Linked DNA regions of Homo sapiens: all the other regions are linked to region 1. The links are contacts of gene promoters, found by promoter capture Hi-C in blood cells and fetal thymus (Javierre and others, 2016). All regions are on one chromosome and are shown on one strand. The core of a region is centred on a gene start or on the middle of the fragment in contact, and the rest is flanking DNA. Distances in the headings are between cores, read along the strand shown.

Evidence for each region. Contacts are between HindIII fragments. The CHiCAGO score rates a contact against its expected background, and 5 or more counts as called.
Region 2: a contact is called between a fragment that was not itself captured here and the fragment with the promoter of HAND1 in region 1, in 7 of 17 cell types (naive B cells, total B cells, M2 macrophages and 4 more). The highest score is 9.5, in naive B cells.
Region 3: a fragment that was not itself captured here is called in contact with the fragment with the promoter of HAND1 in region 1 in 2 of 17 cell types (activated CD4 T cells and monocytes); the score reaches 5.6 in activated CD4 T cells.
Region 4: a contact is called between a fragment that was not itself captured here and the fragment with the promoter of HAND1 in region 1, in 2 of 17 cell types (naive B cells and total B cells). The highest score is 6.0, in naive B cells.
Region 5: a fragment that was not itself captured here is called in contact with the fragment with the promoter of HAND1 in region 1 in 3 of 17 cell types (neutrophils, total B cells and naive B cells); the score reaches 6.6 in neutrophils.
Region 6: a contact is called between a fragment that was not itself captured here and the fragment with the promoter of HAND1 in region 1, in 1 of 17 cell types (neutrophils). The highest score is 5.4, in neutrophils.
Region 7: a contact is called between a fragment that was not itself captured here and the fragment with the promoter of HAND1 in region 1, in 1 of 17 cell types (neutrophils). The highest score is 5.2, in neutrophils.

The regions. Positions count from the first base shown.
Region 1 is chr5:154,476,341-154,480,644 of GRCh38, reverse strand. It overlaps HAND1 (heart and neural crest derivatives expressed 1), which reads left to right and starts at 2,418. Exons shown (of 2, transcript NM_004821.3): 1 at 2,418-3,179. The coding sequence starts at 2,637. RefSeq lists a silencer at 445-494 and enhancers at 461-970, 3,744-4,304. The HindIII fragment of the contact is 6,833 bases long and covers 1-4,304 here.
Region 2 is chr5:154,044,231-154,048,534 of GRCh38, reverse strand. The region is part of intron 1 of MFAP3 (microfibril associated protein 3); the gene reads right to left. Among named protein-coding and RNA genes, the nearest start is that of MFAP3, 7.4 kb to the right of the region's middle. The HindIII fragment of the contact is 6,700 bases long and covers 1-4,304 here.
Region 3 is chr5:154,888,747-154,893,050 of GRCh38, reverse strand. GEMIN5 (gem nuclear organelle associated protein 5) reads left to right here. Exons shown (of 28, transcript NM_015465.5): 25 at 502-664; 26 at 1,309-1,810; 27 at 3,634-3,730. Among named protein-coding and RNA genes, the nearest start is that of CNOT8, 32 kb to the right of the region's middle. The HindIII fragment of the contact is 2,720 bases long and covers 817-3,536 here.
Region 4 is chr5:154,869,597-154,873,900 of GRCh38, reverse strand. It overlaps CNOT8 (CCR4-NOT transcription complex subunit 8), which reads right to left. Exons shown (of 7, transcript NM_001301073.2): 4 at 3,079-3,240; 5 at 2,027-2,171; 6 at 1,250-1,360. Among named protein-coding and RNA genes, the nearest start is that of CNOT8, 13 kb to the right of the region's middle. The HindIII fragment of the contact is 1,005 bases long and covers 1,247-2,251 here.
Region 5 is chr5:154,093,934-154,098,237 of GRCh38, reverse strand. No RefSeq gene overlaps it. Among named protein-coding and RNA genes, the nearest start is that of MFAP3, 57 kb to the right of the region's middle. The HindIII fragment of the contact is 465 bases long and covers 1,768-2,232 here.
Region 6 is chr5:154,129,623-154,133,926 of GRCh38, reverse strand. No RefSeq gene overlaps it. Among named protein-coding and RNA genes, the nearest start is that of GALNT10, 59 kb to the left of the region's middle. The HindIII fragment of the contact is 5,584 bases long and covers 1-4,304 here.
Region 7 is chr5:154,147,033-154,151,336 of GRCh38, reverse strand. No RefSeq gene overlaps it. Among named protein-coding and RNA genes, the nearest start is that of GALNT10, 42 kb to the left of the region's middle. The HindIII fragment of the contact is 1,526 bases long and covers 1,272-2,797 here.

The DNA of each region.
Region 1 (4,304 bases), core at 1,169-3,668:
TGTGTTTCTACCATATGACTTTGGTCTCTGTGCATGCCTGAATGGAGGATTGGGAGCGGCTCCCAGGTGTAACACATCTGAAGCGTGATGAGTATGTACCCTGTGGGTGACAGAGAGACAATGTGTAAAATCCTAGGAATGCATGAATGCTGTGTGTACCGTGGCTGTGCGTATTACTGTGAGAATACACATACTTTTGGGCGTCTTATGAAGATACGGGCTTTTGTGTACGGCGGCAAGGTTTTGTGAGCCCTTGTGCATGTACCTGTGAATGTATAATCTGAGGGCCTAGTGTGCCGCTCTGAGAGGCACTGTTGCAGATTGTACTTGGATTAGGACAAAGACTGGGCGTGTGTTGAGGATTGTGTGTTGAGGTCCTTCTCTCCACAGCGTAATTACTCTCTACCTGCGCTCTTTCTAGAATGCCTCCAGGCCAGGGAGGCTTGGGACCCCGCAGAGCCGCCGCAGCAGCGGGCCCCCAGCGCTCCCTCCCCGCGTGCCTCCGGCTCCGCGCTCTGCCCTACCCCAGCGCTGCTGGCGCCAGGCGCCGGGGAGAGCGGGGGGTTTCCAGCCCGCCTCGGGCAGGAAACCAGGACCTCCCTGCACCACCCCCCCATGCACCTCCAGGGCCCACAGCCCTGCTGAGCTCCCACAGGTGGAACCAGCAGGCCCAGGCTTTTGTCTCCGTCACTCCTGTATGTAACCCCCCACCCTTCATTCACTCTCTTGTCCAGGAGTGGAATTCCACTCATCCACTCCCTACCGGACCTCGAGAAAATCGCTCTTCTTCTCTGGGCTTCACGTTCCATATCTGTTCAAGGAGAGAATGGGCCTTTCTCCCTCTGTCTTTGGACTAGTAACTATGATAGGCACATAGTAGGCATCAATAAATAATTGTTGAATGAATGGGTGAATGATTTGCCTTCTAAAAAGAGCACTCACATTAACTTCTCCTTTCCCCCTCCCCTCGACTTTGCTTTGAAGAGAGGCACACTCCCTCTACCACACCGAGGGAGGGGGCGTTGAGCTGAGAAAGGTTGAGAGAATGAGGGACCCAGGTAGGTGGACATCGGCCAAGAAAGGAACCACAGCGGGAGGTAAGACCGAGAGTCCCCAGCTTGAAGCGTCACCACTCCGGGATTCCCAGATTCCAACGCGAGCCTGGGGAAAGCCCACAGTGGAGAGAGTCCGGCTGGCAGGGAATGGCCCTACCCCCGGGGTGAAATCTCGGAGGGTCGTGCAGCCGAGTCGCGCCTCTGCGCTGATGCGTGAGAGATGCCGGACGTCGCGTTTGCCTGTGCGAGCCTCGCGGATGCTGTGCAGTCTTGGTCCCCTCTGCGTGTGTCTAACGCCGAATGCTGGTGTCTCGAGGTGTGAGCTTCGGGGCCGGTGTCTTTAAAGAACCAAAGATTCTTAAGGAGTGATGATCTGGGTAGAGCGGCCCGACGTAGCCGCGCTCCCAGGTCTCGGTGCGAGTCCTGCGGACAGACCAGAGGAGACCTGCTGGCCAGATGCCCCGGGCCCAAGGCGGACGCCAGACTGTCTCTGCGCCAGCCGGGCTGGCCTTCGGAATGGATCAGGCACCCGGGAGGCCGGAGTGGATCTCAGACCCTCAAGCCGGGAACAAACCCGTCGATGCCCGTGGGCCTGGAGTCCGCCTCCTCCTTCCCGCCCCACCCCTACCCCTGCCTCCGAAAGGCTTCTTCGCTGGTCAGTAGCTGCGTGCCCGTCTGCCTGAGGCTGGGTCAGAATTGGCGGGCTGGTAACGACCCCGTGCACAAGCGGCTCCCAGTCTCTCCAGAAAGGGCCGATGACTAAGGGGTGGGGGTGGGGGCGGAGGGCTGGAAGGTGTTAGGGAAGAACGTTAGCGGCCTATCCTGTCTTCAGCAGCGCCCTCTCATCTTCTAGCTCTGACGCCGAGCAGAGCAGTTGGAGCTCGGGACTGGGAACTGCTGGAATTCCTATTTAGACTTCTAGACAGTCTAGAAACAAGAACCTTTCTTTCCCTGGGCCTCAGTTTCCTTGTCTGTAAAATCAAAAGGCGGGCTCTAGGTGTAGGCCTTCTTTTCGCTTGGTGATTCTGGATTCCTTTCCTTGGATCCGTGGGGAGGGGGTGGCAGCAACAGTCCAGGGCGTTGGCCGTCCTGTGCCTCAAGTACGTAGTCCCCGTGCCCGCCCCCTCAACACCCCCAGCAGCCCGCCCCCCTAAGCCCGCAGAGCAGGGAGCTGAGTGGGAGGGGCAGAGGCGGGGCCGGTTCCCAGTCCCTGCTGGCGGACTAGAGTGGCGCGGGCTGAGCGTAAAACCTGGGATAGCCACTCCCCCTTTTCCTTATCCCCGCCCCCCTGCCATTGGCTCCCGGGAGAGGTTGACATCAAAGCCGCGGTCTTATATAAGCCAGATCCGCAGGGGAGTCCGCAGAAGGGTTAAACAGGTCTTTGGGCTTCGGCGACCTCGCCCGCGGCAGAAACCGGTAAGAAGACAGTGGGCTGCGCGTCTCATTTTCAGCCTTGCCCGGACTCTCCCAAAGCCGGCGCCCAGTAGTGGCTCCAGAGCCCACAGGTGGCCCCCGGCAGTCTCTGGGGCGCATGGAGCGGCGTTAATAGGGCTGGCGGCGCAGGCCAGTAGCCGCTCCAACATGAACCTCGTGGGCAGCTACGCACACCATCACCACCATCACCACCCGCACCCTGCGCACCCCATGCTCCACGAACCCTTCCTCTTCGGTCCGGCCTCGCGCTGTCATCAGGAAAGGCCCTACTTCCAGAGCTGGCTGCTGAGCCCGGCTGACGCTGCCCCGGACTTCCCTGCGGGCGGGCCGCCGCCCGCGGCCGCTGCAGCCGCCACCGCCTATGGTCCTGACGCCAGGCCTGGGCAGAGCCCCGGGCGGCTGGAGGCGCTTGGCGGCCGTCTTGGCCGGCGGAAAGGCTCAGGACCCAAGAAGGAGCGGAGACGCACTGAGAGCATTAACAGCGCATTCGCGGAGTTGCGCGAGTGCATCCCCAACGTGCCGGCCGACACCAAGCTCTCCAAGATCAAGACTCTGCGCCTAGCCACCAGCTACATCGCCTACCTGATGGACGTGCTGGCCAAGGATGCACAGTCTGGCGATCCCGAGGCCTTCAAGGCTGAACTCAAGAAGGCGGATGGCGGCCGTGAGAGCAAGCGGAAAAGGGAGCTGGTGAGTCCTGGGGCTTGCATGCTCCAGCCAAGGGTGCAGGAGCGGTGAGCAGCCTCAGGCCATGCAGGTAGTCGAAGGAGGCTGTGTTGTCCTGTGTCCGATTTGGAAAGGTTGGGAAGAGTTCTGAGATGGTTGGTCACAGCGTGCGATCCTGTGCATGGAGGGAGGCAGATTCGTCATAGAATTCATTTGTAATACGGGAGAGTGTTTGTAATACTGAGTGAATAATCTGTTTGGAGCCTCGGACCCTCCAAAAATGCACACACCACAGGTTTTGCTTCCAATTTGGAGAAGTCCTGATTCATTCCTGGGCTCTCCTGGAAGCCAGGTTAAGAATATGTGTTAAAGTTCTTTACTTTGAGTTTGAATTTATGTGCCCGGGCTCGGTTCCTGTTTTCAAAGGGCCTTTGCTGGACCGGCTAGTCTACTTCCATCATTGTATAAATAGGGAAACTGAGGGCCCAGAGTGGGTCGGGGCAGGAAAAGCACCTATCTGAGGAGTCCAGGGTGGAGGTGAGGTAAAACAGATCGGGTCTTCTACTCAGTCCAGGGCCAGTTCTGGTTCTCCCCATGGACTGGTTCTGAGGACGACTTCAGTGGCTTTGCATGTAAATAAGAGCCACTTCTTTTAGCTTTGGAGAGCGCAGTCTCGTCTTGGCCTTCTTGATCCTCTCCGGTTAGGGTGACACTTCCTGGCACTCGGTCTGGCTGTCCGGGGCTGGGGGCTTCTGAGCGCTGGGTTTTCAGGCTGGCCAATCAGTTTCTCTAGGTTGGGGGGCTTAAGGCCGTAGCGGAGTGGAGCCAGCTGAAGCGCCCCACCTGGTTTATCCAACCTGCGGGGGCCTGTGGTAAACTGACGAAAGCTCATCCAGGGACGAGGGAAAGATAAATAGGCATCGAGTCTCTAAACGGCTGCCCCGGACTGGGGATGGTGCAGGCCGGCTTCTTTCGAGGTGCGGCGCCTCGAAAGAAGTTGTTATTGGGCGGATCCCGGCCCCCACGCGTCGCCGCCTCCTTCAAGTAGCACCGCTTGGTTCCTGCTGAAAGAGCGGGAAGGAGGACGCTAGGCCAGCTCGACTCCCCGCTCTTTTACCTCCGTATCTGAGGCTCCCAGCTCCGGCTTAG
Region 2 (4,304 bases), core at 775-3,274, 430 kb after region 1:
AGCACCAAGATAATTAGTTTTGGAAATGACATTTACTCTCCTTTATATTTATATGAAGGCTGCTTGATCACAGAACATAAAAAACAATGAATCACTGTATTTTGCCATTAAATATCTCAAAGTCTAAATTACAATACGGTGCAAATGTCATTTAATTTTCATTAATTAACCCTTGAAAGGATGGTTGAATGGTGACAAATACTTTTCTAAATCTTTACAATTTAAGGATGGGGTATACAGAGTAAAATAAAAAACCTTCAGACTTTGGCAATACATGACACACTAAACGTGTTTATTTCCATTTCCTCCTAAAACCGCACAAAAAGGACACTAAAGGAAACAAAGACTTAGGCAGAGAGGGGATTTTGGAAGTAATATAATCTAATTGATTCAGTGCACAGTGATTTGCTTCTTACGACATGCTACAAGTTAGTAGGAGAATCTAGTTTGGAATACAGTCTCTTTTTTAAGAGGGGGTGATGGGTAGAAACAATGGAAATAACATTTATTGAATGACTGCCATCAGCCAAGCACTGTGCTAGGGGCTTGACATGTAAGTTTCCAAGCTCTTTTTCACTGCAAGATATACAGCAATTGGAGGACATAATTTTGTACTTTATTCTAGATTAGTGGTTCTCAACGGTGACAGGCTATGAGTGTGCTGAAAAAATGCTCCAGGCTTTCTCCAGAACTTTGATTAGGAGTTCCTATAGCTTCATCCAGGGCAGCACTTCCCAAACTTCATTCATTCCTTCTCCTGTCTTTTTTGTTGTTGTTGTTTTTACTATATCCATGAACCAAATTATCGTCATTTCTGCTTTTCTTTTAAATCAACTCATTTTATTTTTACTTTCACATTTATTTAAAAAGGAAACTCTACATCAGTTCTGTGGACAAATGTAACCGTACACATAAACATAATGAAAACAAAGAAGTGTTATTAGCTTCCAGAGATACTACTGCCTGCTGAAAGGCTTTGAGCTGGAGGCTTGCTCTCTCTGTAGTAAAACCAAAACCAAAACAAAAAGCCCCCCACAACTCCAGTTTATTTTAATGCCACCTCATTTCTTAACCTGCCATCTCCTTCCTTTCTACTCTTCCCCACCACTGAGTTTGAGATCGGAGGGATACATTTTCATATACTGAACAGTATCTATTGAGCACCTACCATGTGCCTACCTACTGCCCCATAGACATTGTCTCGGCCTCCACGAAGTTCAGTCTGGCAGATGATGGACACTAACTACATATATACAAAATAAACTCAATGTTACCCAAGGGAAAATACAGATGCTACAGGAGGACCCAACATGGGGAGTTAATCTCATCATGGAAAGCCTCTGAGAAAAAGAGGTGTGCAGCACCTATTCTTCAGGTGCAGGACCTGAAGAATAAAGAGGAATAAAAATTGGGAGGAAAGCACTCAAGGTAGAGGGCCAGGAGACAGGGAAAAATGAGAGGGGTCACTGGTCAGGAGTTGTTCACAAAAAACAGCTAAAAAATTGTGGTAAAGACAGGCAGTGGCCAAAAATGCTGCGTCTGATTCCTGATTCTGGAGGAGAACTAACTGGGCCAATGGTGAAACTGGAGATAGACTCCGGAAGCTGCAGTGGCTGAAGTGAGTGAGGGAGATATTCGTCCATGATGAAGACGTCAAACAACTGAGAGGCTCAAACGTGGGCAGATCACCTGGGGGTATGGTCACATCCCCCCAGGATCAAAGTAGCTAGTGTAGAAGAAACTGGAAAGAAAGGAAATGGATTCGGTCTTCCTGCTCTGAGATTCAGGAACTTCAGCAGAATGAACAGCTGTCACAGGCGAGGGCTGCAGGGCAATGAGTGTCCTCACCAACACAAGGCTTGGCAAAGCATAACTCCCACATGGAATTCTGCCTTCCCGCAAACTTCCTGAACCTCCTATCAAGGCCTTAGCTATTCCTCCTACATAAATTCAGAGTATAGCTGTATAAAGGATGGCTTCTCCTTCACCCCAGAGCCCTCCCCACCTACCGTACTCATCTGGCGCTGGTATATGCTGCTCTGTACTGCTAGGCAGTCTATCCCATCTCAACTACCCCTTAAGAACAAGGCCTATATTTTTTATTGCTGTACGTCATAACTAGCACATGCTCAATAAATATTGATGGAGATTAGTTTAAATTTGATTCAGTATGTGACAGATCTTTATAAATTGAATAATGTTATGCAACAGGGATTATAATTGTTCAAACTGACATACAGTTGCCTATTATAAATTCTCTGAAACAAAAACAGTCAATGCTAACAATCTTGGAAGACCTTAAAAGTACCTAATTAAATGCATTCTTCCGACTCCCAACCTGATACCTTCATTTACCATGTTGTCCTAGAGGATAATGGTAGGAATAAAAGATCACCAAGTGCAGTTTCCAAACCAGGTTGAATATCACAACTGTCAGGAGAGCTTTTTAAAAATATGGATTCCCAGGTCCCAACCCAGAACGAGTAAGAAACTCTGTGTTTGCGCCTTGGAATTTATGACTTTTAATTGGCTCCCTGGGTGTTTCTGAGGCATTGGATTCATGTACTGCATCTAAGGGCCACTAATACAGTTCCTCAATTTCCTCTGCAACTGACCTGCAGAATGGTGCTTCAGGCTATTTGAATATTTCCAATGAGAGATATAATCACTCACATTCCATTCTAGATTTAGATTACTCTAGATCAGCAAAATTGAAGGTCTCTAATAAGAGCAGGGTAGCAGAGAGGTTCAGAGTATAGGATTCAAATACGATCTGTGACTCTAACCAGCCTTGCAACTTTTATAAATGACTTAATCTCCCTGCCTCAGCCCCTCATCTTTAAAATGGGCAAAATAACAGAATCTATTCTCACAGGATTATTGCAAAGTCTGAATGAGGTAGTATACATAAAACACAGAGTCTGGCAATGGTAATCACTGAATAAGCTCTATTATTATTGTTCATGGTTCTTTCAGATATTGAACTAAAATTTACATTTGATAGTTACATCATTATAAAACACTCAGAATACCATGCAACCATTTAAAAATCTTGGGGGTTGGGGGGAAGGGGACACCATTATGCAGTTTTAATCTTAAATTTAAAATTTCACATTTTTCTTTTTCTCATTGCAAATATTTTGCAATATTATGGAGCATATAGGCATTGTAAACTGAGCTTGGATCCCAACCATGATATGACATTGTATGTGTCCTCAGTTTGTGGTAGAGAAGATTTGTCGTGATCTACTTACCCAACGGCTCCCCTCTTTGAGCCCTATCCCTATCTTCTTGGGTCTAGGAGGAAGACAACCTATTGGCAAAGTAAGCTAATAGAATCTTTGTTCTTGGAACTTGGAATTGAGACCCTTGTGGGTCAGGGTCATTTGAGGAAAAGGAGGCATGTGGGGGCTGAGGCAGTCAGGTTTGGGCCACATACAAGGAGAAGCTGTAAGAAAGGACAAGAGGGATGGGGAAGGGAGAGAGTGGGAAGACAGGAAGAGGAGCAGGAGAAAGACAAAGAGAGACTCATACATGGTGCTTTGGTGCCTGATAGAATTCTACTTCCTGGCACTCCTGTGACCCTTTTTTTTTTTTAAAAAAAGAAACAACTTTATTAAATTTTACTCAAAATTAAAACCACAAAAGTGAAGATGAATGTGCAAACACGTAATAAATGCGGAAATGGTTAGGCAGGAGAAAAAAGATTAAGTTCACAAAAAGTTATTGAACTGTGTCTGTGGCTGCCAGGCAATCTTCATCATAGATCTCTAGTCTCTTCCTTACACAGTGGAGTGTGGCAAGCAAACTGCCCATGTGGCCAAGATTTGTGGTTCTTGTGTTGTACAGACATAGCCATTTGCCTCTACCTACCAGACAGGATTTAGGAAAACACTATAAACTCCCTTAAACTGCTCTTAGGCCAAACATGGCAGAAGAAACCTGGCACACTGATTTTGAGCCACAAGAGAAAGAGGCTGCACAATAGCCTTACACATCCAGTTAATACTGGGCACTTCACTCATACCATGTACATCCTGAACACAGAGGACTTCTGATTTGAAAGACTAACGGATATAACCCATTTGCAGGTAACAGGCTGTTCAGCAGCTGTGAGAGAAAACACTGGCAAAGATACGTGTCCAAGAAGGTGACAAAGCAGAAAAAAATAGTGAGGGAAGAACAAATCATCCTTGGTATCAGGGTACTATTATTTCCTCACACTAAGTCTCCTTTTTGCTAAGTCAGCTTGAATGGGTTTCTGCTACTTGCAGCACAAACTGCATTGACTATGACCATTCTGC
Region 3 (4,304 bases), core at 927-3,426, 410 kb before region 1:
ATCTCAGCTCACCACAACCTCCACCTTCCGGGTTCAAGCAATTCTTCTGTCTCAGCCTCCCGAGTAGCTGGGACTACAGGCACGCGCCATCATGCCTGGCTAATTTTTGTGTTTTTAGTAGAGGCGGGGTTTCACCATGTTGGCCAGGCTGGTCTTGAACTCCTGACCTTGTGATCTGCCCACCTTGGCCTCCCAAAGTGCTGGGATTACAGGCATGAGCCACCGCGCCTGGCCCACTTTTTGTTTTAATTAAATGCAAATGTAAAGGTGTTTTCTCAGTGTGAACAGACTTTAACACCGGGACGTGTGTGTGCTGCTGTGCAACTAGACATGAGAGTTTCCGATGTGGGAAGCAAAAATGGGTGGCGGAGACAAGAGGAACTTTCAAAGTGTGAATTGTGTGTACTTGTTTCCAAATGCGGTTCACAGGAACAGTTTGGTGGCATCCTCTGCGCCTACCGTGGGAGGATGTTTAACTCAGACTCTGGCTTCTCTCTCCAGCTCCTGCTTCACATTTGCCATGACTTGACCCTGGCAGTGCTGAGCCAACAGATGGCCTCCTGGGACGAGGCTGTGCAGGCGCTCCTTCGGGCGGTGGTCCGGAGCTATGACTCAGGGAGCTTCACCATCATGCAGGAAGTGTACTCAGCCTTTCTCCCTGACGGTAAGTGACTTCCTGCTGCCTGAGGCACACCCTTTAATGGACAACATCACCACCATTAGTGGTGTGGCACTGGGAGTACCTAGATTCTTAAAAGATGGAGATTGGCCAGCTGTGTCATTTTAGTAGAAAGTTTGGATTCTCTTACCGAAGCTTTTAAGAACAACTATACTGTTTCCTTTACCTGGCCCTACCCTCTTACAGCCTCCTGTCCACTTTCCACAAAGTTTAAGGGAGAGAGAAATAGGAATGTAGTTACATGTTAGTAAGAACAGAAAAGAACAGCAAAAAAGATAGACATTCCTTGGGCTGCATAGTCAGTCACTGAACTAAATCATTGTGATTTTTCAGAGAGACAGTGTGATCTGTTGTCGTGGCCCCAGAGCCTTCAGTAGTACAAATGGAATACTCTATCATGCTTTGAATGACTCCTAGGATGTAGTAATGAGAACACTGTCGCAAGCCAGGAAATGTTTAGCCTCCAGTTGGCTCTTGGTGGAAAGGCATGTGGCCCGGTGGATCACACTGTTGTCCTTTTTCCTGGGGTCTGCTTCTTGGTTGATAAGAAATAGAACATAAGGGCAGGAAGCCACATTTCTGGCAACTAGAGAAATGCATGACCCAGTATCTTTTTCCTCTTTTCCTAGGCTGTGACCACCTAAGAGACAAGTTGGGGGACCATCAATCCCCTGCCACACCAGCTTTCAAAAGTTTGGAGGCCTTTTTTCTTTATGGGCGTCTGTATGAATTCTGGTGGTCTCTCTCCAGACCTTGCCCAAATTCCAGTGTCTGGGTAAGGGCTGGTCACAGAACACTCTCTGTTGAGCCAAGCCAGCAGTTAGACACTGCCAGCACTGAAGAAACGGACCCTGAAACTTCTCAGCCAGAGCCAAACAGGCCTTCAGAACTAGACTTGAGACTCACAGAAGAAGGTGAGCGAATGCTGAGTACTTTTAAGGAGCTCTTTTCAGAAAAGCATGCCAGTCTCCAAAACTCACAGAGAACTGTTGCTGAAGTCCAAGAGACCTTGGCAGAAATGATCCGACAACACCAAAAGAGTCAACTCTGTAAATCCACAGCAAATGGTCCTGATAAGAATGAACCGGAAGTAGAAGCAGAGCAGCCCCTCTGCAGTTCTCAGAGCCAGTGGTAAGTACTGAGGCAAGTACAAGACGGAATGAAAAATGACCCTGCTGGCTAGGAACAGTGGTTCATGCCTATAATCCCAGCACTTTGGGAGGCTGAAGCAGGAGGATCACTTGGCCCAGGAGTTCACCACCAGCCCGGGCAAAAAAGCGAGACCCTGTCTCTACAAAAAAAAAAAAAAAAAAAAAGCCCGGGCACAGTGGATCACGCTTGTAATCCCAGCACTTTGGGAGGCCGAGGTGGGCAGATCACTTGAAGTAAGGAGTTTGAGACCAGCCTGGCCAACATGGTGAAACCCCGTCTCTACTAAAAATTAGCTGGGTATGGTGGCACATGCCTGTAATTCCAGCTACTTGGGGGGCTGAGGCCAGAGAATCGTTTGAACCTGGGCAGCAGAGGTTGCAGTGAGTCAAAATCGCACCAGTGCACTCCAGCCTGGGCAACAGAGGGAGACTTCATCTCAAAAAATACAAATAAAGTAACCAGGTGTGGTGGCATGTACCCTGTAGCTACTTAGGAGGCTGAGGCAGGAGGATCACTTGAGGCCAGGAGCTCAAGTTCAGCCTGGGCTACATATTGAGACCCTGTCTCTAGAAAAATTAATTTTTTTAAATTAGCCAGTAGTGGTGGCATGCACTTGTAGTCCCAGCTACTCAGGAGGCTGAGGTGGGAGGATCACTTAAGCCCAGGAGTTCGAGGCTGTAGTGAGATACGATCATGCCACTCATACCAGCCTGGTTGACAGACCCTGTCTCTACAAAAAAAAAAAAAAAAAATTAAATTTTAAGAAGCCAGGTGACAAAGGAATTTTATTTATAAAATGAGATAAAAGTAACCCAGGCAGGGGCATATGCTCTCAGGGCCTCCTGAGGGCTGTGTCATAGGCAAAAGTTTAAATTTTTAAAAAATATTAAAAATAAAAGGTAAAAGCTACCCAGGCATAACAAAAGATAATCCAATTCAAGGATGGGCAAAGGACTTGAATAGACATTTCTCTAAAAAGCCAGTAAGCACAGGAAATGATGCTCAACATCTCATCATTGGGGAAATGCAAATCAAAACTACAGTGAAGCAGCACTTCATAGCCATTAGGCTACTATCAGAGAAACAGAACAAGTGTTGAGGAGGATGCAGAGACATTGGAACCCTTGTGCCTATTGGTGGGAATGTAAAATGATGCAGCCACTGTGGAAAACAGTACAGCAGCACTTCCTCCAGAAATGTAAAATAGAATGACCATAGGATCCAGCACTTCCACATCTGGGTATACACCCAAAAGAATTGAAAGCAGGGTCTGAAATATGTGCACACCTGTGTTCATGGCAGCATTATTCATAATACCCAAAACACGGGAGCAACCTAAGTATCCACTGACAGATGAATGGATAAGCAAAATGTGCCATATCCATACAATGGAATGTCATTCAGCCTTACGAAGGGAGGACATCATGCTGAGTGAAATAAGCCAGTCACAAAAAGACATATACTATATGACTCCACTTATATGAACTACTCAAAATAGTTAAATTTATAGAGACAGAAAGTAGAATAATGTTGACAGGGGCTAAGGGAAGCAGAATGAGAAGTTAATGTTTAATGGGTATAAGATTTCAGTTTTACAAAATGACAAGAGTTTTTGGAAATGGGTGGTGGGGATGTTTTTCACCACATTATGAATTTATTTAAAATCACTGAACTATGTATTTTTAAATGGCTAAGATGGTAAGCTTTATGTTATATACATTTTACCACAGTAAAATAACAATGGGAGAAAAATGTTACCCAGGGCAAGACATACAATTTACACCTTTTATTTTTTTCACTAGTAAAGAAGAAAAAAATGAGCCACTTTCTCTGCCTGAGTTAACCAAAAGGCTTACCGAGGCAAATCAGAGAATGGCGAAATTTCCTGAGAGCATTAAGGTAAGAGTTAAAGCAGTTCATTTGGTAAAGCATCACTTTTTGTGTTATCACTTGACTATACCACATTCTTATAAAGGTCAGCTACCTCTCTGTTCAGTTTCTAAAATCTCTACCCATTCATATGTGCTTAAGAATTTAGAATCCAGGCTGGGCGTGGTGGCTCACGCCTGTAATCCCAGCGCTTTGGGAGGCTGAGGCTGGCGGATCATGAGGTCAGGAGATCAAGACCATCCTGGCTAACATGGTGAAACCCCGTCTCTACTAAAAATACAAAATATTAGCCGGGCGTGGGGGCAGGTGCCTGTAGTCCCAGTTACTCGGGAGGCTGAGGCAGGAGAATAGCATGGAGGCAGGAGAATGGCGTGAACTCAGGAGGCGGAGCTTGCAGTGAGCCAAGATCACGCCACTGCACTCCAGCCTGGGCAACAGAGCGAGACTCTGTCTCAAAAAAAAAACAAAACAAAAAAAAAGAATTTAGAATCCAATTACTTTGGTTAGCTAGAATGTTTTGTGAGACTAGAATTATCGATCACACAAGTAATTTTATACCTCAATCTTCAGAGAAACCAAATAG
Region 4 (4,304 bases), core at 500-2,999, 390 kb before region 1:
GACAGGTAGCACACCACTCTCCCCCACCAGATTGTGACAACCAAAATCATCTACAGATATTAACAAATGTACCCTCCAGGGCAAAATCATCCCCAGTTGAGAATCACTGACCTAGAACATTTACCAACACATGGTAACAGTTGTTTATAATTAAGAGTAACAAAGAGGAAATGTACTCTCCCTCTCTACAATCTTAGTTCTAAAAAGGAGATCCATGTCTACAGATCAATTAATCTGATCCGGTCCTCAAAAGTGTCAACAAAATCAATATTTCAATTTTTCAAAGCAGCGTCTTACTCCTTCTACATCTTTGAATATATTTTAAAACCTGAGTCAGTGAGTAAAGAAACTAAAAGAAGAAATTAAGAGTCTAATTTTTACTAAGGGGTTATAGTAAATTCAATATAGTATTTATTTAATAATAATTAACAGAACTTACCATAATGTCAGTAGGTGGCCTAACAAATATATTTCTATTACAGGAATCAGAAAAAAAGCAAATAACTGAAAGGATTAGAGCTGACAAGAACATGAAGTTCTGGACTTGGGTGTGCTCAAGAATACTTGGTTACTGGAAAGTGGCTTTCACGTCAGAATGCTGCTTTTGCCTCTCAAACATGTGACATGCAGAATACCATAACAAAAAACAACCACTTTCAAAGTGGACATCAACTTGCTAAAAAAACAGTCTATGTGGCTGGGCGTGGTGGCTCACGCCTGTAATCCCAGCACTTTGGGAGACCAAGCCAGGCGGATCACCTGAGGTCAGGAGTTCGAGACCAGCCTGGCCAGCATAGTGAAACCCCGTGTCTACTAAAAATACAAAAAATTCGGCCAGGCAGAGTGGCTCATGCCTGTAATCCCAGCACTTTGGGAGACCAAGGCAGGCAGATCACCTGAGGTCAAGAGTTTGAAACCAGCCTGGCCAACATGGCGAAACCCTGTCTCTACTAAAAATACAAAAATTAGTAGGGCATGGTGGCGGGCACCTATAATCCCAGCTACTCAGGAGGCTGAGGCAGAAGAAAAGCTTGAACCCGGGAGGCGGAGGTTGCAGTGAGCTGAGATCGCACCACTGCACTCCAGCCTGGGTGACAGAGCAAGGCTTCATCTCAAAAAAAATAAATAATAAATAAATAAAAAATAAATGTTCAACAAACCTCAGCCCACATAACAGACCATCCACTACCTCCTTAGCCTTCAGCAAGTTACTGCCGAGAGGCCTGTGATCACATTCAAGGAAGCTTACCTCTTTCATCCTAAAGAAAGCCATTCCTGTCAGCAGTGAGTCTGAGCCTGCCTGGTGCTGCCTTCCAATCCTCTGCAAATCCAACTGATCAGCAACTTCCTGAAGACCTCCCTGGAGATGTATGGAGAACAAAGATAATATTACAAACCCAACATGCCCCTACTGGAGCCAACTAAGTGCAGTTATGAGTTCACTGAATTCTAGCAAGAAGTGGGGACAGGCCATTTATTTAACAGGCCTTAGTAACCTCTTTTTAGCTCTTTTATTCCCTTTTTCCAGACGCTATATTGTGCTACATCCTACATTTTGCTCCTTTCCATGTTGTTAATTTTTCCAGAACTCTGCCATTAAAATCAGAATTGCAAGGCTGAGGAAATAGTAAATCCCACTCTAATTCTAGACAGCAAAGCTCTATGTCAACAATTTATTACGGTACCAAGTTCTAAAACTTTCTAGAGTTAAGAACTCCTCTAAGAATCTGTTATACCACAGACCCCATCCCTAACAAACAGCATTTATACCTTTTCATTAGGTTCATGGCCCTCGAGTGAAGAATGCCTGCCTTAAGATGACAGAAGCAGAGGGTTCCCTTCATGGCCAGGTTAAAGATCGTTACCACACAAATATCTGACCAAATCAGCTTTATATTATACCCTGTCTACCACCACACTAGCATCTAGTACTCAAAAATGCATGCTGAACACGTAACAATAAAGCAAAGTCAGCTTTTTTTCTGTCCTTCTTTTTGTTACTGGTATTAAGAAAAACATCATATACCTTAAGATTTTTGCAGCTCTTCATCAGGTATTTCACATCATAAATGGATGGGAAGAAAAGGTTCAGAATATGAAAGAATTCATGTTCCTCTTCTGGCAAACGAGAATCTGTAAGCAACTTTACCATATAGCCAAAATCATAGCCACTACAAGAGAATAAACCACAGAGGTTAAAAAAGCAGTGGTTATCAGGCCCCAGTGTTCAACCATTTTATTTCTCAAAGCTTGTAAATGCTACTTCATGTTAGGAACTTTCACTTTTTCTGAGTAGTTTATCGTACTATAATCTGAATCTTTTTTTTTTTTTTTTTTTTTTGAGACAGAGTCTTACTCTGTTGCCCAGGCTGGAGTGCAATGGCACGATCTCGGCTCACTGCAACCTTCACCTCCCAGGTTCAAGCAATTATCCCTGCCTCAGCCTCCCAAGTAGCTGGGATTACAGGCACCCGTCACCATGCCTGGCTAATTTTTGTATTTTTAGTAAAGACAGGGTTTTGCCATGGTGGCCAGGCTGGTCTCGAACTCCTGACCTCAGGTGATCCACCTTTCTCAGCCTCCCAAAGTGCTGGGATTATAGATGTGAGCCACTGCGCCCGGCCTATAATCTGAACTTTCTAATAACAACCTAACAGACTAATATGGGAGATATAAAAAAGTACCCAAGGGGTTTAATTGTAGATTCGATTCACCAAAAATCCAAAAGTACTGAGAAGTTAAAATAAGGAGAATCTGGCTTTCAAGTACCTAAGAAACTCCGAGACAGCCATTTAAAAGATAACCAAGTACTGTGACCCTCTACACCCACCATATTCCCACTTGGAATTAAACCCACTGATAGCCACATGATAGAGCCAAATACTGTGTGAAACAAACCAGTATATGAGCCCCAGTGTTTTGTGAAAAACTGAAACATGGGCAACAAGCACCAATTCAACTTCTGGCTGCTGCTGCTGAACAGAACAGTCACTAGGACTGCAAAAATGACTAAGAATTCAATTCCCTGCTTCAGTGTAGCCCAAAGTGAGAGAGAAATACACATTCCCTAGGACTGACCTATGAAATGAAAGCCATTTGACATTGTCACAGAGAACCACTCCTGATGTCATAAGCAGCTCTGCAAAGTGCAGTGTGTCAATCCCTTCCTCTTCATGCTTCTGAAACTGTAGTCCTGAGTTAGCAAGGAGATCTATGGAATCCTGGGAGTACATGTCCTCTCTAAAAAACAAGGTGTTTATTTATTAACTGGTGAATAATGAAACAGAAGTAGTGGCCACACTATTACCACCACCTTATAATTATAGTACAAGTATTTTTGAAATGCTTTTCCTAACTTAATAGATCAATTCACTCTTTCCAACATTCAAACAAGCATGCAAAGTAGATCATATTTCTGTGACAGATAGAAAAATGAGATTTTCCTCCATAAACTAAATTTCCTAATTATAATAGGTATACATTTGCTCATTATTTAAAAAAAAAAAAAAACCAATAACACCAGGCACAGTGGTGCACGCCTGTAATCCCAGCACTCTGGAAGGCCAAGGCAGGAAGATCACTTCAGACCAGGAGTTCCAGACCAGCCTGGGTGACAGAGTGAGACTCCGTCTCAAAAAAAACAAAACAAACAAAAAAAAAACAACACACACACACACACACAAACAAAGATTAGCCAGGCATGGTGGTATGCACCTGTAGTTCTAACTACTCCGGAGGCTGAGGTGAGAGGATTGTTTGAGGCCAAGAACTGGAGGGGACTCACACCACTGCACTCTAGTCTAGGTGACAGAGCAAGATCCTGTCTCAAAAATAAAATAAGTAGGCCGGGCATGGTGGCTCACACCTGTAATACCAGCACTTTGGGAGGCTGAGACAGGCAGATCACTTGAGGCCCAGAGTTCAAACCAGCCTGGCCAACATGGTGAAACCCTGTCTCTACCAAAAATACAAAAATTAGGCCAGGCGTGGTGGCTCATGCCTGTAATCCCAGAAATTTGGGAGGCCAAGGTGGGCGGATCACGAGGTCAAGAGATCAAGACCATCCTGGCCAACGTGGTGAAACCCTCTCTCTACTAAAAACACAAAAATTAGCTGGGCGTGGTGGCGCACGCCTGTAATCCCAGCTACTTGGGAGCCTGAGGCAGCAGACTCACTTGAATCTGGGAGGCAGAGGTTGTAGTGAGCCAAGCTCGCGCCACTGCGCTCCAGCCTGATGACAGAGCGAGACTCCCTCTCAAAAAAAAAAAAAAAAACACAAAAAAACAAAAATTAGCCGGACGTGG
Region 5 (4,304 bases), core at 751-3,250, 380 kb after region 1:
TAGTGGAGATGGCAACACAGGAAAGCCAAGGCAAGCGATGGACTGCCAGGACATGTTTTAGTTCCTCTATCCAGCCATACCTGAAGACCAACTTACCCCTAGACTTTTGAGTTACTTGAGCTAACGTATTCTCTTTTTTATTTAAGCCAGTCAAAATTGGGTTCTGTCATGGAAAGAATCCTAAACAACTTCTCTGAGCCTCAGTTTTGTCTTCTGCTAAATGGAATTTAATAACACCACTCCTACACATATAAGATGTTGAACACAATGCTGGCACATAGTAGTAACTGTCCTTCTTCCTCTGAGCTCTGGGAGTGAAGGTGACTATGCCCCCTTTTTTACATGCAGCAGCTCAACCTTTGTTGGCCAGATGACTAAAAATTGCTCAGAAGGCTGACAGAAGGGCCAGCAACCTTCTTTCCCTGATGCAAATAGCATCATTTCTTCTGGGTAGACGGAAGAGCTCAGCAGAATGTGTATTTGTCCCTGAGCTCTGGTTTTTGATTGCCACCTGGATGTGCCCAACAGGTAGCCTGCTGTGTTCTACATGCCACAGCCAGATGATAAACCTTTGATTTTTGCTCTTCTCTGATTCTTGGGAATAATGGGGTCCATAATGAATTACATCCCCAAGAATAGCTGTAATTGTAACAATGCCAGAGAAACGGAGCTGGCAAATCAGCCAGTCCTGTGAAATGCACCTACTTGGTTCCAATCACTCTCTTTGGAATGAATACCATCCTTATTTGTTTTTTTGTATCCCAAATTTCTAATAAGCAGTGGGCTTTCTGTGGGAAGTGGAGAATAAAAACCAGACATACGGGAGGTTTTATTCTCAGTTTGAGTGCTTTATTCCCTTGTATGTGCAATTTCCCTAGGAATTTGGTCACAGGGAAAGAAGATTTCTGCAACCCTTCTTGCTGCCACCAACCCTATATCATGTCAAGGAACTGACACCTGCCTTACCTGGAGATGCAGAATCATTTGTATGCTGTCCAAGGTGCTGATAAGTGGTACTCTTATGGAAATCGCCAGGGGAGCAGCTTGGCTCAGCTCAAAGGCTGTACTGTCCACAGTCAGGGAGAGGTATGGCTAGGGTTCCAGGCTGCAGGGTTGGTAGGAAGGGGAAGCTCCTGGGCACTCTGAGTCTTTTCTTGTCAGCATGTCTTCTTGGAAGGCCATATTCATCTTGGCTCTCTCTCAGACCCTGGAATCTACACAGAACAAAATAATGAGCAGTCCAGGGTCAGGACGGTAAATATGATTTCTAATACTCAACTGGAATGGTAGGTAAACATAAGCAAATTTAGTACCAATTATATTTAGTAGTTGCCACTATTGCTCGTGTATTATGTGTCAGGCACTGTATGATAAGTATGCTGTATCATTTTCTCATGTAATCCTTATGACAAACCAGTAAGTAGGTACAATTATTGTCCCTATATTTTAGTCAAAAAAAACTCCTGGAACTTAAAAAGAAAAAATAGTTTGACCGAGGGCAATAGATTGGTTTTGCACTCAGGTCTGCCAGACACCACGAGAACCTGACCTTTTAACCATCATGTTCTGCCTGGTAAACGTGCTCAAGGAGGGGTTCTAGAATACATGGGAAGGTCAGCCCCTGGCTCATCTGGCAATTAAAGGCAAGGCACTTTCTCATGGAGCTTTGAATTCTCCAGCTGTAAAATTAATGGGTTAGCTCTAAGCCCTTGAATTAACCAGGTAGCCCTGTTTTAGTGGTGAGCTCCCTGTCCCTGGATGTAAGCTTGAAGCATAGCTAGGGAACCACATGGCAACAACATGACAGAAGGGGTTCAATCACAGGACAGCAAGATGGGTCCACACGACCTTTACTGTTCTTTCTTCTATGAGAGTCTTATGCCAATTTGTCTTAAAAATTGAAATTTTCAAATTTTCAAATTGAAAAGGCCAATGCTTGTGCTCCCTAGGACCTGATCTTGCCAATTTTGAGGCTGCTCTATTTGTCTGCTGCAATTTGCTATGGTGACTCAGCAGGAGGCAGGGAGGAGGCACGACAGCCAGCGCTCAGCCTTCCTCCTGAAGATGTTGCTTGGCTAAGGGAGGGGACACTGGGTGGGAGGTCCCCAAGATAATTGCTCTGAATATATTTGTTGCTGATGTTCCCTTTGTCTTCAGCAGGCGCCAGATTTCCCCACTCTAGCCGAGTTCTCACTTGGTTGAACATTCGAACAAACGCCCATTAGGGAAGCTTGTCACTTTCTCATTTGAGGGAAATGTCTGACGCAGAAGGGCAGGTACCACTTAAAATGTCAAGGCAGCAGTGTAGCTAGCAGGTAAATTTCTGTGTAAAACTCCACTTTCTGCTTTGGAGAAAGGAAATGATGTTAGGATTCTTGTATGGCAGTCAGCCACGAAGACTATCTTGAGCTGGAGAGGAAGGGGTAAATGATCTCAGTAATCCAGACAGTTCTTTCATCAGTTTAAGATTCCAGTGCTTACTCCCCCAAACCCCAACATTTCTGGTCTTCATTCAAGGCACCCTGTTCTCCTTCCAAGGCTCCTCTTCATATTCCCCATTAATCAACACTTCTTCCATCATTACCTCCCCTATCTCTACAGCAATGTCCACATTCCTCTCAGAATAATGTCCTAACTTATCTTCCTGACCCTAACTTCTCTGAGTGACAGTCTATTCTACAGGCAGTCCTCAACATCAGCTTCCCAGCATAGAAAATTTCAATGGTTTCTTGAGTGTTTACAGAAAACAAAAGACACCTCCCCAACAACCCCCAAGCCTAACACTTATGAGTGCTTGCTGCATGATGCCAGGTGCTTCATGCATTAACTTGTTTTTCACAACAGCACTATGAGTTGGGTACTAATAAGTACATATTACAGCTGAGTAACATGAGGCTGAGATATTAAATAACCTGCTTAAGAGCTCCCTACTTGTAAGCTCCTAACCCAGATTTAAACCAAAGTGGTCTGCATTTTTCTCCCACTTTCTTTTATTATTACTATTCATAGACTATTTTTTAGAGATTTTTACGTTTACAGAAAAACTGAGCAGAAATTATAGTTCCTATATACTCTCTTATCCCCACCTCAGTTTCCCCTAACATCTTGCCTTAGTGTGGTTTATTTATTATAAATAATGAATCTACACTGACACATCATAGTCACCCAGTCCATAGTTTACAGCAGGATTCACTCTTGGTGTTGCACGTTCTGTGGGTTTTGGCAAATGTGTAATGACATGTATCTACCTTATACTATTATACAGAAAAGTTTCACAGCCCTAAAAATGCCCTGTCTCCCACCTATTCATCCCCTCCTTCCTCTCCCCATACTTCTGGCAACCACTGATCTTTTCACTGTCTTCATAGATTTGCCTTTTCCAGTTGTCATATATTTAAAAGCATGCAGTAGTACATAGTCTTTTCAGATTGGCTTCTCTCACTTAGCAATATGCATTTAATGTTCCTCTATGTCTTTCTGTGGCTTGATAGCTCATTTCTTCTTCTTCTTCTTTTTTTTTTTTTTTTTGCTGAGTAATATTCTATTGTATGGATGTACCATAGTTTGTTTATCCTGGTATATATTTTTAATTTTTACAATCTATAGCTTCCTTGAAGGCACATTACTTAGGCTGAAGTTTCAGATATTTCCTAATCTGACCCTCGCCTTTCATCCCAATTTTATTCTGACCTCACTGTTCCCTGAACATGACCTTCATTTCTCTGAGCTTTTGCTTGGAGAACATTCCAGGAATGTTCAAGCATGGATAGCCATCACCCCACTGCCATACGGCAGGTGCGGAACCTAAGACCAGACTTAAACCCATTACTGAATTGCATTTCCCAGGGGATTGATTTAGGAATGAGAATGTTACCTAGTGGGAACCAATGAAACCTGCATTGAGAGTTCATAAATTTGAAGCTGAGAGGGTATGAGGAGCAGTGGCAGCTCTATTGTGGCCCAAGGGAGAATGTGTCTGAGAACAGGATCATTTGTGGGAGAAATGAAAAAGAGAAATTAGGTCATAAGGATATAATATACACCCACAATCAAACTGTATTCATGTGCACCTGTACATTCTTTTTCATTCAAGTGTATTTTGGTTGGGTTTCTGATATTTGCTACTACAAGGACTTGCCAATACAGGTGAAGAATGGTAGGTACTATAAGAACAGTATGGCTCAGTTTTCCCAACAGACCATCTGTAGATTCACTATTCATTCAACAGATATTTATTACATATCTATTATGCTCCACATGCTGCACTGAGTGTTGGCCACTGGAAAGGACTAACAAGAGCTTTT
Region 6 (4,304 bases), core at 645-3,144, 350 kb after region 1:
GTCTTTGCTTCGGGCACCTGAACCATGTTGTAGCAGGATTAATCATCCTCTCGGAAAGGTACTCTCTGGGCCTCCAGTGGTGTCCTTGGAAGATACGTGTCTGGAGTTGGTTCAGCTGCCTTTCACATCCCTGTGCTGGGGTGTGTGTGTGTGTGTGTGCGCGCGCGCGTGTGTGTGTGTGTGTGTTAGCAAGGCTCGGGTAGGGACACAAGGAGATTGGTCTTTATTTTTTTCCTTCCTTCCTTTCTGTCCTCCTTCTCCTCTTTTTCTTCCTAACAAAAGTCTTTTGTAGAAATGACGTATACTCATATATACTCTTTTTCCTAACCATAGGCTTTTGTAGAAATGATATATACTCACTGAAAAAAATTTCACTCAGAAATTTTAAACAAAGTAAGAAAAAAGCAAAAACAAAACGCAACAGAAAACATCGCTTCCCAGAAAAATTACTGACAACTCGGTATCTTCCCAGATGTCTCTTTATATATAGATAAACTGATACAGAAATGAGTATTTAATTTTACATAGTTGGGCTCATAAAATATCTGTGCAGTTGTGCAATATGCTGTTTCTGCTCAAAATGCACGTTGGCAGTTTATTCAGATCTGCACAGTGGCTGTGGTTGCAGAATCTTTCAGGGATGTGGCATAGATTTATTTATCAGGTCCCCTGTTGTGAAGATGCACACACTTGCTCTCTCAGTCCCCAGAGCTTCTCTAAACTCAGAACACATCACCTCCCATGCATGGACATTGGCACAGCTTCCTAACTGGCCTTCTGGCCTCCAGGCCTCCCTGAAAATCCGTGTTCCACACTGTGGCCAGAGCTAGCTGTTAACCATGCCCATCAGGTCATGCCACTCCTCTGCCTAAAACCCTAGAATCTATTCCCATCGCTCTTAAAACAAAACCCAAACCCTTAACCATAGCCTAACATGACTAACAGTTTCATGATCTGGGCCTCCCTACCTGGCTTCCTCTGACCTTTTCTCCTGCCAGTCCAAGATCATCCATTCCCGCCTCAGAACCTCTGTGCTCACAGCTCTGCTGGCAGCCTTTCCCCTGGACCTTTGCTAACTGGCTTTTTTGCCACTCAGGTCTCAGCGCTCAGGGCTCCTTCCTCACTCAATCAATGCTGATCCTCTTCTCCTTGCCAGTCGTTGTGCCATTACTCTGTTTTAAAATTTTCTTTAAAACGGTTATTTCTATGTGAAATTATCTTATTGATTTGTTTCCATGTTTATTGGAAACAAAAAGTTTGTTTAACTTTGATTACTATTGATAATTTATTTTTCCTGGTTATAGTCTCCTTTTTTGTTAGATCGCATGTTTAATAACTTTTAATCATAAGATACATATCGTGGATGTTACGTTGTTCAGATTCTGGAATTTGATGTCTTCCTTTAACGAGTTTGAGTTTTTTGGGGGTCGGGGTGGGGAACAGGCAGTTAATTTGCTAGCATATCAAAAGCCTCATCCTTTAAAGTCTTGTGTGTGTGTTTTTTTAAGCGTTGTAAAGATGTGTCTAAATTAGTTCTTTCTCTGGAACTAGAATAGCCCTATACTCTAAGCTGTGGCTTTTCTAGAATCTCAGTTGAATGAATGCTTAGGGTGTTAGCAGATCTCTCCATTCTGGACAATCAGAACTCATATGTCACCCAGAACTGTGACTTTGGAATCTGCATTCAGCTTTCAGTTCCTTTGTAGCTGTTCTCTGCCAGCCTTTGCAGAATCTAGTCCTGTGCATTTATTTTTTACATTTGGCTAAAGACCTAAGGGGACCCCCATCTACCAATGCAGATTTCAGAGCTCTTTCTATGCGCAAGTCCTTCGTGTCTGGTACCCAGACCTGCAATTCCAACTGGCTTAGCAGCCTTGAACTCTAATCTGTGCCTGCTCATCTCTGCAGAACTTCTATGCTCTGCTTGAAGTTCACCTCTCTGCGTTGTGTGGTCTGGAGCGGTGCCTTCTAGTAGAAAGCCAGGGCAACTATTTTAAATGTTGCACAACTGCAACATTTAAAAATAGTTACTTTAATATTTCTTAATTGGGGAAGGGCTGGTCCAAACCCAGTTATTATAGCACGGTTTGAAGCAGAAGTTGTATTTTTTATTTTTAGGAATTGCTTTTTATAATTTAAGTTTGTAATTGTATTAAATATTTACACGATTCCAAGTCAAATCTACCAAACAAGATTATCCACAGAAATCTAGCTTGTAATTCTGTACCTTCTACTCTATTCTCTTTATCTCTTTATATTTAGCGACTTAAAATAATGGTGATGGTTTATTTTTTATTCTTTCTTTTTAATATAAGCAGGTGTGTGTGTCTGTGTATGTTTCATATTCACCCTTTACTTACACAGTAGTACACTCTAAATACTTTCCTCTAGCTTGCATTTTTTAAATGTAACTATGTATTCTGATGATCACTCCACACTAGTATAAAGAGATAGTGCTCATTCCTCCTTTACAGTTTTACAGTCCTCAATTGTAAGAATGTCTAACTTGTCCTGTTTTGCTCAGGATTTCCCGGTTTTAGCATTGAAAGTTCTGGACAAACCAAGCAGGTTGGTTACCCAGTATGAGTATATTATAGTTTGTTCGATTAGTCTTTCTTGGATAGAGATTTAGATTGTTTCCAATCTTTTAATACCACAAATAGTTCTTCAGCGAATAGCCTTGTGCATACATCTCTTCATATTTTACCAGTGTATTTTTTTGTTGTATTTTTTAAAAATAGGATTGCTGGTTCAAAGGTAAATGCGTATGTAATTTTTCCAGATATTGTCAAATTCTTCTCCATAGGGATTGCATAATTTTGCATTTATACCAGCAGATCTCGAGAGACTGTTTCTTCAGAGATTTACCAGCAGAGAATTTGTCCAACTTTTATCTTTTTCCAATTGAATAAGTGTGAAGTTATACCCCCAGATATAGTTTTAAAATGTACACTTTTCTTATTATGAGCAAGTTTGAGTATATTTCATAAGGTTAAGAGCCACTTGCACTTCTTTCTTTGTGGACTGTTGGTACAATTCTGCAGCCTATTTTTATATAGGCTTATTGAACTTTTTCCTCTCCAATTTTAGAAGCTCTTTATATATTAGATATATGAATTCTTTCGCTGTGACATAAGCTGTAAATATTATCCCCAGTTGGTCATTTATCTTTACCCTTTGCTTGTAACATCTTTTGCTATACAAAAATTTTTTGAATGAAATCAATTTATATTTTCTCTTACTGCTTATAGATTTTGAATACAGTTAGTAATGATTTCTCCATTCCCAGGCTATAGAGGAAGCCAACTATGCTTTCTTCCAGTACTTGTATGGTTTCATATTCTTACACTTACATTTCTGATCCATTTGGGATTTATCTTGGTGAATGACATGAGGAATGAATCCAATTTTAGCTTTTTTTATATGACTATATGACTCTCTAATTATCTCAATATCTAAAAGTCTATTACTTTCCCACTGATTTGAGCTGTTGCCTTTATAATATTTTACATTTGCATATGCAATTGGGTCTTTTTCTGACTTTCCTATTCTGTTTCATTTCACTTATAGAGGCTTTATAGCATGCTTTAGTATCTGTTAGGGTAAGCCTTCCTCTTTGTTCTTCCTTTTTGATTTTCCCCACTATTCTGATTTGTTGTTCTTCCCAATGAACTTTATAATCAATTTTTTCAGCTGCGGGAAAAAGGAAAACCTGATGGTATTTTTATTAGGATTGCCTAGAGTTTATAAATTAACTTAGGGACAATTATCATTTTTATGATGTGAATGCTTTCTATCTAAGAACACAGTATCAGATGACATTTTTTATGACCTCACCAGATTAGGGAGTTGATGAAATGCTCTGTTAATCATGCAGCCAAGGACCACTGAGTTTTACAACTCCTCCTGAACCCATGCCTATGCCACCTCCTCCAGGTAGCCTGCTTTGTTTTCTAGGGAAATGATCTCTCCAGTCTCACATTCACAATTTTGACCATAGGTTCTATCTGTATATATGTGTACTCTATTTTCTCTTCTGGGCTAAGAGTTCTCTGGGAACTGGGTATGTATTGTAAATCACTATAATACTAATAAATGCTAAGTTAAGAGTAGGGTCTCTGAGCTGGGCTCTTCATATCTGTTATCTCACAGCCTTTCCCAGTTATCTCACAGCCAAAGCTAGCCCGTGTGCTTGGTCAACCTGGAAATTTTAAACATTCCAGTTTAGTTGCCAGCATTTAAAAATTCTGAGATTTGACCCCAAAATATAAATGTTCAGATTCTTTAACAGGAAAAGAAGTTGG
Region 7 (4,304 bases), core at 785-3,284, 330 kb after region 1:
GCTTAAGGCCCAGTTTCTTCATCTATAAAACAAGAATGGCAATCCAATCCATTCTCATTGGATTATCCTTAGAATCAAGTTAATTTTTGTGCATAAGAGCCTAGCACATTGCACATGGTAAATGGCCATAAAACTGTAACAGTTAATTTTGTCATTGCTGTTATTATTGTTATAAATAGTTCATGTTCCCATTGGAGACCTTCTTTCTGCAGCCCGGCTATTGGGAGAAAAGACCAAAAGTCATCTGGATCCAGAGCCTTTAGTAGTGAATTTTAGCAGTGGTGGGAGTGATGATCAGCCAGAGACATAATCAGAGGCAGGTGAGGAATTGAGGACTAGGAAGAGAGAGAAACCAAAGAGCAGAATGCCGGTGACAAAGGAGGCCCAGACTGCTCTGTCTTCCTAGTGTCAGCTGCAAATGCTCTCTAAGAAAGTCCTCTCACCCTTTCCCCAGGGACCTCCAATGTGCTTTCAGCAGGTTCCATGAGGTAGCCAGCTAGTTCTCAAGACCTGATTACATTCAATTTACTTGAATTTTTATCAGAGTGCCAGTCAGCAGTGTTCTAGATAAGCTGCCCCAAATCAAACAGAGGCCAGTAAGGTCCTGCCTTAAGCTCTTGTCTTACTCGCTATCAGTGACTCCCAGGGGACCTTGGAAAATCCAATAATCTCACAGAGCTGTTCCTGAGCCTATAGAGTCCTGGCCCTGTCAAAGCACAGTGAAAACTAGCCAAAGCAGCCTGAGATCAGCCATAGCTTTAGCAGGAAAAGTAGATGTATTCTCTGCTTTTTATTCTTGAAAGTTTCTGTTGCTGTTCAGAGGATAAAAGCAGCAGTAAATGCTTAGGCAGAGCTGCGCCTTATGGCAATTTGCTCTGAGCAGTTGTCCTGAGCAGGCCCAAAAGCCAAGACAGTGTAGCCAAGGGTCCAAGTGCGGTTTGTAACTGAGGGCTGTGTCATCCCAAGCCTGGCCCATGGGGTCAATGGCATCCTCTGCATCTTTGGAATGATTATGGGTCTGTACAGCAGGGATTGCTCCCTTGCCTGGAGTACAGCACTGCATTTGTCAGGTAAAGGAAATGGTTTATCAATAACAATAACAATTTACACTCAGCAAACTGTTATTTAACCACACGTCGATTTCATTAAGGCTGGATGACAATAATCATCATAATAACAGTGTGTGCTTTCCACTTGCCTTCCTAATAGTGAAAGGTTTTAGAGCCCAGTCCTCACTTAGTGGGCTGACATTGAATTTTGAGACATAAGCTTGTGACCAGGAGGAAGAAAGGAAAAAGTGTTGGGCAAATGTTGGATTCAAAGAACTTATTGTTGTTACTCTGATCAATTAATTGATTCATTTATTTGCCAAATATCTTTGAATACCTACCATGTGCCATGTACAGTAGGCCTCTGTCCCTCTGTATCCACAGGTTTTGCATCCACGAATTCAACCAGTCGCTGATCAAAACTATTTAAAAAATAATACAAGAATAAAAAAGAATTCAAATACCAAAATACAGTATAACTATTTACATAGCATCTACATTGTATTAGATATTATGTGTAATGTAGAGATGATTTAAAGTATTTGGGAGGATATGCATAAGTTATAAGTAAATACCTTTCTTTCTTTCCTTCCTTCCTTCCTTCTTTCTCTTTCTTTCTTTCTTTCTTTCTTTCTTTCTTTCTTTCTTTCTTTCTTTCTTTCTTTCCTGTCCTTTCCCTTCCTTCCCTCCTTCCTTCCTTCCTTTCTTTCTTTCTTTCTTTCTTTCTTTCTTTCTTTCTTCCTTTCTTTCTTTCTTTCTTTCTTTCTTTCTTTCTTTCTTTCTTTCTTTCTTTCTCTCTCTCTCTCTCTCTCTCTCTCTCTCTTTCTTTCTTTTTCTTTCTTTCTCTCTGTTGGTTTTTTTTTTCAAACGGAGTCTCACTCTGTCACCCAGGCTGGAGTGCAGTGGAGCGATCTCGGCTCACTGCAACCTCTGTCTCCTGGGTTCAAGCAATTCCCCTGCCTCAGCCTCCCGAGTAGCTGGGATTACAGGTGCTCACCACCATGCCTGGCTAATTTTTGAATTTTTAGTAGAGATGGGGTTTCATTTTGTTGGCCAGGCTGGTCTCGAACTCCTGACCTCAGGTGATCCACTCAACTTGGCCTCCCAAAGTGCTGGGATTATAGGCGTGAGCCACTGCATCCAGCTTTTCTTCCTTCCTTCCTTCCTTCCTTCCTTCCTTCCTTCCTTCCTTCCTTCCTTCCTTTCTTCCTCCTTCCTTCCTCCTTTCCTTTCCTTTCCTTTTTTTCTTTTTTTTGAGACAGGATCTTACTCTGTCACCTAAGCTGGAATACAGTGGTGCCATCAAATGGCTCACTGCCATCTCGTACTCCTGGGCTCAGGCAATCCTCCCACCTCAGCCTCCCAAGTAGCTGGGATTGTAGGTGTGCACCACCATGCCCAGCTAATGTTATTATAATTATTTATTATAATTATTATTGTATGTAAAGTCAGGGTCTCCCTATGTTGCCCAGGCTGGTCTTGAACTCTTGGGCTCAAGTGATCCTCCTGCCTTGGCCTCCCAAAGTGCTGGGATTACAGGCATGAGCCACTGTGCTTGCTGACTATGCGTAAGGGACTTGCACATCTGTAGATTTTGGTATTTGCGGGGGTCCTGGAAACAATCCCCTGCAGATACCAAGGGATAGCTGTACTGTGCCAGATGGCAAGGATACAGTAGTTGAATGAAGTAGGCTCAGTGTATGTGTTATCTATTGCCACATAACAATAAAACCACAAACTTAGAAGCTTAAAATAACATACATTTATGATCTCAGTTTCTTTAGATCAGGAGTCTGGGTACAGATTAACTGGGATCTCTCCAAGGCTACAATCAAAGTGTCAGCTAAGGATGGGTTCTTATCAAAAGATTTGACTGCGGAGGATCTAACTCCAAGTTCATGTAGTTGTTAGCAGGGTTTGGGTTTTGCAGGCTATGAGGCTAAGAGCCTCAGAGCCTCAATTTCTAGCTAGTTGTGGCTGGAGGCCACTCTCAGTTTCTTGACATGTGGTCCTCCCCAACATAGCCACTTGCTTCATCAAAGCTAGCAAGGGAAGGAGCCTAGCAAGACAGACATTGCAATCTTACATAATATCATCATAGAACTGGCCTCCCATCACCTTTGCCATATTGCATAGATTAGAAGCAAGTCACAGTCCCCTGCCACACTCTAGGGATGGGAAGATTACATATGGATGTGAGTACTAGGTCTACTATACCAGTCTCTACTGTCACTCAGTTTACAGGGAAGATAGCCATAAAATATAATTACTATGAAGTGTGATTCCGGCTATAAGAAGGGAAGAACTTAGGTAATGTCTCCCTCACTCAGTGTAATGAGGGATATTTAAGCAAGAACTTTGAGGAACTGCTCAAATAAATTGTGGGGTAAGTGTACATGGGAGTTGGGGGTAAGTGGGAAGTAGTGGGAGTGTATGATGCACAGAGGGTTCCAGGAAGAGGAGTTCTCAACTCATAAAATGTTAGAGCAATGGCCAGGCACAGTGGCTCACGCCTGTAATCCCAGCATTTTGGGAGGCCAAGGCAGGCAGATTGCTTGAGCTCATGAGTTCTAGACCAGCCTGGGGAATGTGGTGAAATCCCCATCTCTACAAAAAAATACAAAAATTAGCCAGGCATGTTAGTGCACACCTGTAGTCCCAGCTACTTTGGAGGCTGAGGTGGCAGGATGGCTTGAATCCAGGAGGCAGAGGTTGCAGTAAGCCGAGATTGTGCCACTGCACTCCGGGCTGGGTTATAGAGCCAGACTTTGTCTCAGAAACAAACAAACAAGCAAACAAACAAAAAACTGTTAGAGCAAAGGAGACGTAGTGATTATCTAGTCTCCTGGTTCTCAGTCTGGACACAACTCAGAATCACCTGAAGAGCTTTATAAACCACTCATGAGCAGGTCCACCCTAGAGACTATGAAGAATTGGTCTCAGGTGGGTCCAGACACTGGCATTTCTTACAGCTCTCCAGATGATTTTAATGTGTGGTCATGGTGGAGAACTACTGTTCTGGTCTAAATTATTTGATTTTATATGTAAGGAATTTGAAGTTCAGAAAGGAAACAGGCTGGGCGCTGTGGCTCATGCCTGTAATCCTAGCACTTTGGGAGGCTGAGACAGGCAGATCACTTGAGGTAAGGAGTTCAAAACCAGCCTGGCCAATATGGTGAAACCCCGTCTTTACTAAAAATACAAAAAAATTAGCTGGGCATGGTGGTGGGTGTCTGTAATCCCACTACTTGGGAG